Linked DNA regions of Homo sapiens: region 2 is linked to region 1. The links are contacts of gene promoters, found by promoter capture Hi-C in blood cells and fetal thymus (Javierre and others, 2016). All regions are on one chromosome and are shown on one strand. Each heading gives the region's core, a stretch centred on a gene start or on the middle of the fragment in contact. The rest is flanking DNA. Distances are from core to core; before and after follow the strand shown. Region 1 holds the start of COX6A2 (cytochrome c oxidase subunit 6A2). Region 2 has its middle 9.5 kb from the start of KRABD5.

Region 1 (3,604 bases), core at 762-3,261:
AATCTTGGCTCACTACAACCTCCACCTCCTGGGATCAAGCGATTCTCCTGCCTCAGCCTCCCGAGTAGCTGGGATTACAGGCACGGGCCACCACACCCAGCTAATTTTTGCATTTTTAGTAGAGATGGGGTTTCACCATGTTGGCCAGGCAGGACTCAAACTCTTGACCTCAAGTGATCCGCCCTCCTCATTCTCCCAAAAGTGCTGGGATTACAAGCGTGGGCCACTATGCCAGGCCTCTAGAACTTTGTCAAGTAAAAATACCTGTCTTCATGTCTGTTTTCTCCAGGAGCCATTATCTTATATACGTAGGGAGGGGGCTATGTGTAGAGGGAGATGCCAGGTATCTTTAACTGGAATAGGGCCCCATCTTCTCTGCAACAATGCCAAAGTCCAGCTGGGAAAAAAACTGTAGGAAGAATTCTATTATAGCTCAGTGAGAGCTCAGGAATAATTTTTGTAACACTGTATAACATTTGACTGCTCAAGGAGGTTATTTTTTTTAAAAATAGCAGCAGCTTAAAGTTGGATGGAACATACTGTTCAGTTTATTACCAATGAGAAACAGGTATAGAGCCCCTTCTTGAAAATATATCTTCCTCGTTTTTTTTATATATTAAATTCAGATTATATGTCTATATAATTCATTCTTCTTTTGTATATTAAGTTCATATTAGTACATCAGCCCTTGATCAAAGCTAGAAGCTTCCTATTGGATTGTAATTCTGAAAAGGCATTGTTGTAGGGTTAACCAAAGTAACAAGGTTCAAGCATTCATTACATACATATTTTTAGAACACCTCCTTCATGCCAAGGTCCCTGCCCGTTGCTGAGGACAGAACAGGCAGATGTCATCCCTGCCTGGTCTTGTGGCTTTCTTGTGACCTGCTTTGATAGAGGGTTCACACCAGCCCTGTCTAGGCTTGCTTTCTCCAAGTAGTCATATTTTTCAGATTGAAATAATGCACTTTGCAGTAGACACCTGTCAGGCTTGTGGCTGCCTGGAACCTTTTGAATACTCATCCTAGACCTGGAGATTTTCCCTACAATTCCTGCCTCCCTAAGGCAGAATCCAGAGCTCAGTTTCCCATCCCCTCCTGCAGCTGGGGGACCTAGGGGTTGCCAGTTGGTGCAATCACATAATTCTTTCAGAAAAGAGCGACCCAGGATACAGGTTTCATGAAGAATCTGTTTTCAAGAGGGGATGAGGGTGGAAAATTCTGGTTTTCCAGGGCAGCCTTAATGAAGCTTTTGGCATCCAGGGTCCAGCAGTGTGAGCTGTGGGGGTGTCACTGCAGCTGGCCAACGGAATGACTTGTTTATGACTGTGCAGACTGTAGGCATCTCTGGCTATATCAGACATAGTAAGCTACCTAAGATTCTCAATTACTTATCTTCTAAAACTAGTAAGAGTGAGTTCTGTTCTTTGCAAAGAACTGTGACTAATACATATACTGAACTACTGTTACCTGCCAAAATCCAGGTTGACACATTCCTACCTTACATAAACTTCATAAAAATGATGTAAGGGCCGTGTAGTGGCTCATGCCTGTAATCCCAGCACTGTGGGAGGCTGAGGCGGGAGGATCACGTGAGCTCAAGAGTTCCACACCAGCCTGGACAATATAGTGAGATCCCCGTCTCCAGTATTTAAAAAATCTTTTAAGGTACGAATTATTATACATTTTACAGCTGAAAACACTGAGACTCAAAAAGACACTTAATTCATTCTACAAATATTTATTAAAGCCCAACTGTGTGCCAGCCACCAGGCATAGAATAGGGAACAAAATAGTTTCCCTGCAACTATATAAAAAGAATGGCATATTGTACTTAAATGCCTCCTTGCCAAAATAAGAGGCACAGGACAACAGCTGTCTGGAGATGACCTCAAGCCAGTCAGGCCCCATTTTAAATATAGAAACCCCTAAGAATAGCCGCCAGTGCTCCAGACTCAACAGGTGATTGGCCCAGAGAGGGGAGGTGACCCCAGGCCCCAGGAAAGGGAGCGAGGACAGCGCTGGTTCCCGGCTCCCCGCACCATCATGGCTTTGCCTCTGAGGCCCCTGACCCGGGGCTTGGCCAGCGCTGCCAAAGGAGGCCACGGAGGAGCAGGAGGTGAGTGGGGAACGGGCGGATCCGGGGGCTCCCCTACCCTGCCCACCTGTTCACAGGCCCGCCGCCCCAGGACCGCCGCGCTCACCCCGCTCCGTCCGCAGCTCGTACCTGGCGTCTGCTGACCTTCGTGCTGGCGCTGCCCAGCGTGGCCCTCTGCACCTTCAACTCCTATCTCCACTCGGGCCACCGCCCGCGCCCCGAGTTCCGTCCCTACCAACACCTCCGCATCCGCACCAAGGTACGCGGGACGGGCGCGCGGGCGGCACGGGGGTGCTGCGGGGGCGGGGGGGGGTGCTGCGGGGGCGGGGGGGGGTGCTGCGGGGGGGGGGTCGCGCGGGGCGCGGACTCCGGACTCACGGCGCTCACGCGCGCTCCCTCCCCCGCTCTCTCCACAGCCCTACCCCTGGGGGGACGGCAACCACACTCTGTTCCACAATAGCCACGTGAACCCTCTGCCCACGGGCTACGAACACCCCTGAGGCCCCGGACGCCCCCGGACACAATAAAGGTGTGAAGCTTCGAGTCTGCGGCTCTGTGGGGAGGGCGGGGCCACGGGGAGCGCGCCCAGAGGCGCCCGCTCCGCGCATGCGCCCAGCTTGGTAAGCGCTCCTGCTCCGCGCATGCGCCTAGCGCGGTGGGCGCTCCACGTGCTTTTCCCACGCCGCTGATACGGAGGTGCTCGAGGGAGCCTCCTCCACTCACAGGTAGGCGATCCCAGCTCCCTGTCTCTCACCTGGTAATAATGAGGCCTCCCTCTCACACACACCTATTAATAATTAGGGCTCTAGGCTGTAATGGGCTTCCGCGTACACCGAATCCTCACAGTAACGCTGGGAGCAGGGTATAAATTTAGTTCACCTTCTCCCGAGGAAGACCTGAGATTCTTGGGAATTAAATGACTTGTCCAAGTTCCGGCAGCTCGGCAGAGCCCCCATGGGAGCCCAGGGCTGCAGATCCTGAAGTCCCACTTCTTGCCTGACACCTGAGCTGCTGGTGTCTGTGAATCCCAGCTCTCTGGATTTCAGACGGAGGCTCCACAGTCCTGTGTGTGAGGCCTTGGGACCTAATGCTGGATTTGGAATCTTTTGATAATTCTCTATAATCTTTCTTTCTTTTTTTTTTTTTTTTTTTGAGACGGAGTCTCGCTCTGTCGCCCAGGCCGGACTGCGGACTGCAGTGGTGCAATCTCGGCTCACTGCAAGCTCCGCTTCCCGGGTTCACGCCATTCTCCTGCCTCAGCCTCCTGAGTAGCTGGGACTACAGGCGCCCGCCACCGCGCCCGGCTAATTTTTTGTATTTTTAGTAGAGACGGGGTTTCACCTTGTTAGCCAGGATGGTCTCGATCTCCTGACCTCATGATCCACCCGCCTCGGCCTCCCAAAGTGCTGGGATTACAGGCGTGAGCCACCGCGCCCGGCCTATAATCTTTCTTAATGAGTCTTCTATATGGGAAATCACATGCTCCTAGCCTGGCTCTCCTGGCTTC
Region 2 (3,604 bases), core at 826-3,325, 280 kb before region 1:
CCCAATCTCTGGCCCCAATGCCTCCACACCTCTCAGGCCACTGTCAGTGAAGACGCTCAGGAAGGACAAGGAGCTGCATCAGCTGGGTCCAGGCTCCTGAGCAGTCTCAAATGTGGCACTCATCACCGTGGGCCTTGTGCATTGTGCAGGGCTCTGTCAGGAACAGGAGAGAGGAGGGTGTTACCAGGGCCCTGCACCCTGGAACAACCCACCCAGCTTAGTAAATAGTTGGCAAGGAAACTTCATGGATAATTTTAATTTTCAACTTTAGGCTTCCATTTTCAAATTCCACTATGGACACATAAGCTAGAGTTTGGTTTCAATACACACGTGTGCACGTGCGCACCTACACACACACACAAACACACACACAACACACCCTGGCTTGCTAAGGGCAAGAATCCTTGATTGCAAAGAACCTCCTGCCAGTTGCTTCTGAAGCACACACAGGCCTTGGGGAGCCCACAAAAGGCCTCCTGCTTTTTGTGCGCTAGGCCTCTGCAGCCTCACCCTGCTCTCCTGGGGCAGCCTTCATGCAGGGGTGGCCTGACAACTTTCTAGGGCTGCCAAATTTAACGCCCCCATTGAGTTTCATGGGATTTTAATGGTCATTGTTTTGGAGGAAGGGAGAAATTGTGATGAACTGTGGGCCCCCTTGAGCTACAGACCTTTTCCACAAGTAGTCAGGCCCTGGGAACCTGAGTGCTTCACCCAGAGAACTTGAGTCTACGGAAGCTTTTATTTGACAACCAAGCCAGGCTCACTACACCAGCTGATGGTGCTGCTTGGAGCCGACTTCCCCACTCAAGGACTGTGAAACTTTAGTTTCTTTAGGAAACTAAGCACTCATCTTTTCATAATTTAATAGGGCGGATTCCAAGCCCTAGCTTCATACTGCCTGACTTTCTTTTCAGAATTTCAACTGTTTTTTCACCCCTGGGCCATGAAGTTAGAGAGTGCAGGTATGATGCCCTGAAAAGCAGACTTGTGCTCCAATCCCACCTCCATATGCTCATCTGCGAAATAGAGACACCAGCTGGGGCAGTGCAGTGTTGCCCGGCCCTGCTTACAGGGGCCCTCCCTGGGCAGGCTGCCCAACTTCCAGACCAACCTTCCACCACGTGGAGCAGCAAGCCCGCCTGCAGCCCTGCCATGCTGCGCAGCTCTGAGACGTGGTCCAGTGTGCTGCCACCCAGGTGCAGTGAGAAGTGATGTGGTGACATGGGTATTCATGGTCCATGAACAGCTGGTGGATCTCCAGCACCATCTCCTGCGGGAACACCTGCCAGGGAGAAGGCCCGGACCAGCCCGGTCAGAGGCCACATGGTAGGGAGCAAGGACATACCCCTTCCCCAGCCCAAAACACCTGGGTCCTGAGAATAAGTGTCTCAAATACTCAGTTTCCCACTTTTGGGCTTTTACATTCCAGGCCCTGTCCATATACAGCATGCCCATTGGCACCTGTGTGCCTAAGTGCAGGACAGAGCCTGGCCCCACTGACTCTTCCTGCAGCCTAAGAGCAACCCCCGAGCCAAGGAGAGGGAGATGGAAGAAAGTGGGGAGGGGGAACGGCAGGCTTGCTCTTGCCCTTGCCTAGTGCCAAGGGCTGAGTGCCCCAGGGCAAATGGCCTTTTCCTTCCTGAAGGGGTGCTCCAGGGCCCAAGCCTGTGAGTAGAGAGGACATGAGAGGGTCTTGCCAGGCTCCCCACCAAGTTACCAGCTTGCAAGTCCTCCGGGTTTGCTCTGTCCTTGGAGAACACCCAATACCACCCTCCAGGCCCCGGTGACAGATGGTAAGGCCATGGCCCATAGAGAGGTGACTTGCCTGAGGGCACAGAGCCAAGAGGCTGGGGCATCCTGGGACCTGACACTACCCACCCATTCCCACTCCTCTCCCTGAACAGGGCTGGTAGGCCCAGCTGGTAGCTGTCCTCTAGCAATAAGGCAGTAACTGAACCCGGACTCCATTCCCAGGTCCACCACATTAGCAGAGTGACCCCGGGCAGGGCCCAGGGCCCTCCATTTCCTGCCTATAGCACAGGGCCAGAAAGAGCCAGGGCAAGGCTGAGTTTTCCAGCATCATCTTCCCCAGCAGGCTCAAGCCCTGGTCCCCAGATCCCCTCCTCCATCATACCCACAGGGAGAAGGGTTCGATCTCGGGGCCAGGATCTCCACAGAAAAGTCCAAATCCTGAATGGTGACTTCTATCTGGTGGTGTCGTCTCCTGGCTTGGCCTCATCCAGCCCATGTTCCCGGGATGGCTCAGCCTCCTCCTTCCTCCTTCAGGCTCCTTCTTCTTCAGGGTCTCCAGGCAGTTCCCATTCAAGAACATGAGTGATGGTGGCTCTGGGGGTGACAAGAAAGGCACTGAGTTGGTTGGGCCTTGCTGGTGAGGGAGGGCTGTCCACCTCACCCCACTTGGATGGACACAAGTCATATGGAACGGTGTCCGCGTGCCCTCCAGAGCTTTGACTCCACAGTCCCAGCTCACCCTCGGCACACCTGCAAGCTGCACCTTCTCCCTTTCACATCCTGTGCCTCCCTCCTCAACTGCTCCTTAGCCCACCACAGTCTGGCTTCCACCTGAGCTCGCTGTCCAAACCACTCTCCCCACATCACCAAGGCCACCCTCAGGGCCAAGCCCCAGGGGCTTCTCCAGCCCAGGTACATCTGTCCACTCACCAGCACCCAGGCCACTGCTCATTTCCTTTCCTCCTCCCTGACCAATGCCACACCCTCGTCCCTCCCTCTCCAGCTCCATCCTCTTCCTCCAGTCCTGAGCTGGGAGTGTTGGGCCCCCCAGCCTCTCCTCATTCTCACCTCACCCTCTCCCATGGCTTCAAAGATGGTCCCATTTCCCAGCTCTCATAGCCAATCCTGGCCTCGATCAGGCCTTTCAGACCAAGGAGGCAGCTGGTCCTGGGCATCAACATGTGGCTCTCCCTTCAGTATCATGGAAGACCCATCCTGCAGGGATGAAATTCATCTTCCTCCACAAACTGGTCTCAGCGTGTGAAGGCCCCCCACCACTTATCTAGTCACCCAACCTCAATTTCCCATCTCCTATTTCAAGAATGCCCCTTGGAACCCTTCTAAGAAGCACACTGCTCACAAAACCAAGCTGCTTTTTTTTTTTGAGATGGAGTCTTGCTCTGTTGCCTAGGCCGGAGTGTAGTGGTGTGATCTTGGCTCACTGAAACCTCCGCCTCCTGGGTTCAAGAGAGTCTCCTGTCTCAGCCTCCCAAGTAGGTGGGACAGGCATGTGCCACCACGCCCAGCTAATTTTTGTATTTTTAGTAGAGACGGGGCCATGTTGGCCAGGCTGGTCCTAAGCTCAGGTGATCCGCCTGCCTCAGCCTCCCAAAGTGCTGGGATCACAGGCATGAGCCACCACACCCAGCCAAAATCAAGCTTCTTAAGCCCGTGTTCTCAGGCACCAGCCTAAAGGCAACCCCAGCTCCTGCCGGCTCCTGCACTTAGGTCTACATTCCCCAAACCACAGAGGACTGAGAATACCTGAAACCTGCCCTCCCACCTCTCTGCTTTTCCATGCTGCCCCTGACATCTCAGTCTGTCGGGCAAACACTGACTCATCCTTCAAGGC

The links. Contacts are between HindIII fragments. The CHiCAGO score rates a contact against its expected background, and 5 or more counts as called.
Region 2: a fragment that was not itself captured here is called in contact with the fragment with the promoter of COX6A2 in region 1 in 1 of 17 cell types (erythroblasts); the score reaches 5.1 in erythroblasts.

The regions. Positions count from the first base shown.
Region 1 is chr16:31,426,767-31,430,370 of GRCh38, reverse strand. COX6A2 (cytochrome c oxidase subunit 6A2) reads left to right here and starts at 2,011. Exons shown (of 3, transcript NM_005205.4): 1 at 2,011-2,118; 2 at 2,220-2,356; 3 at 2,514-2,640. The coding sequence starts at 2,046. The coding sequence ends at 2,597. The HindIII fragment of the contact is 1,386 bases long and covers 1,251-2,636 here.
Region 2 is chr16:31,701,898-31,705,501 of GRCh38, reverse strand. It overlaps the pseudogene CLUHP3. Among named protein-coding and RNA genes, the nearest start is that of KRABD5, 9.5 kb to the left of the region's middle. The HindIII fragment of the contact is 2,676 bases long and covers 738-3,413 here.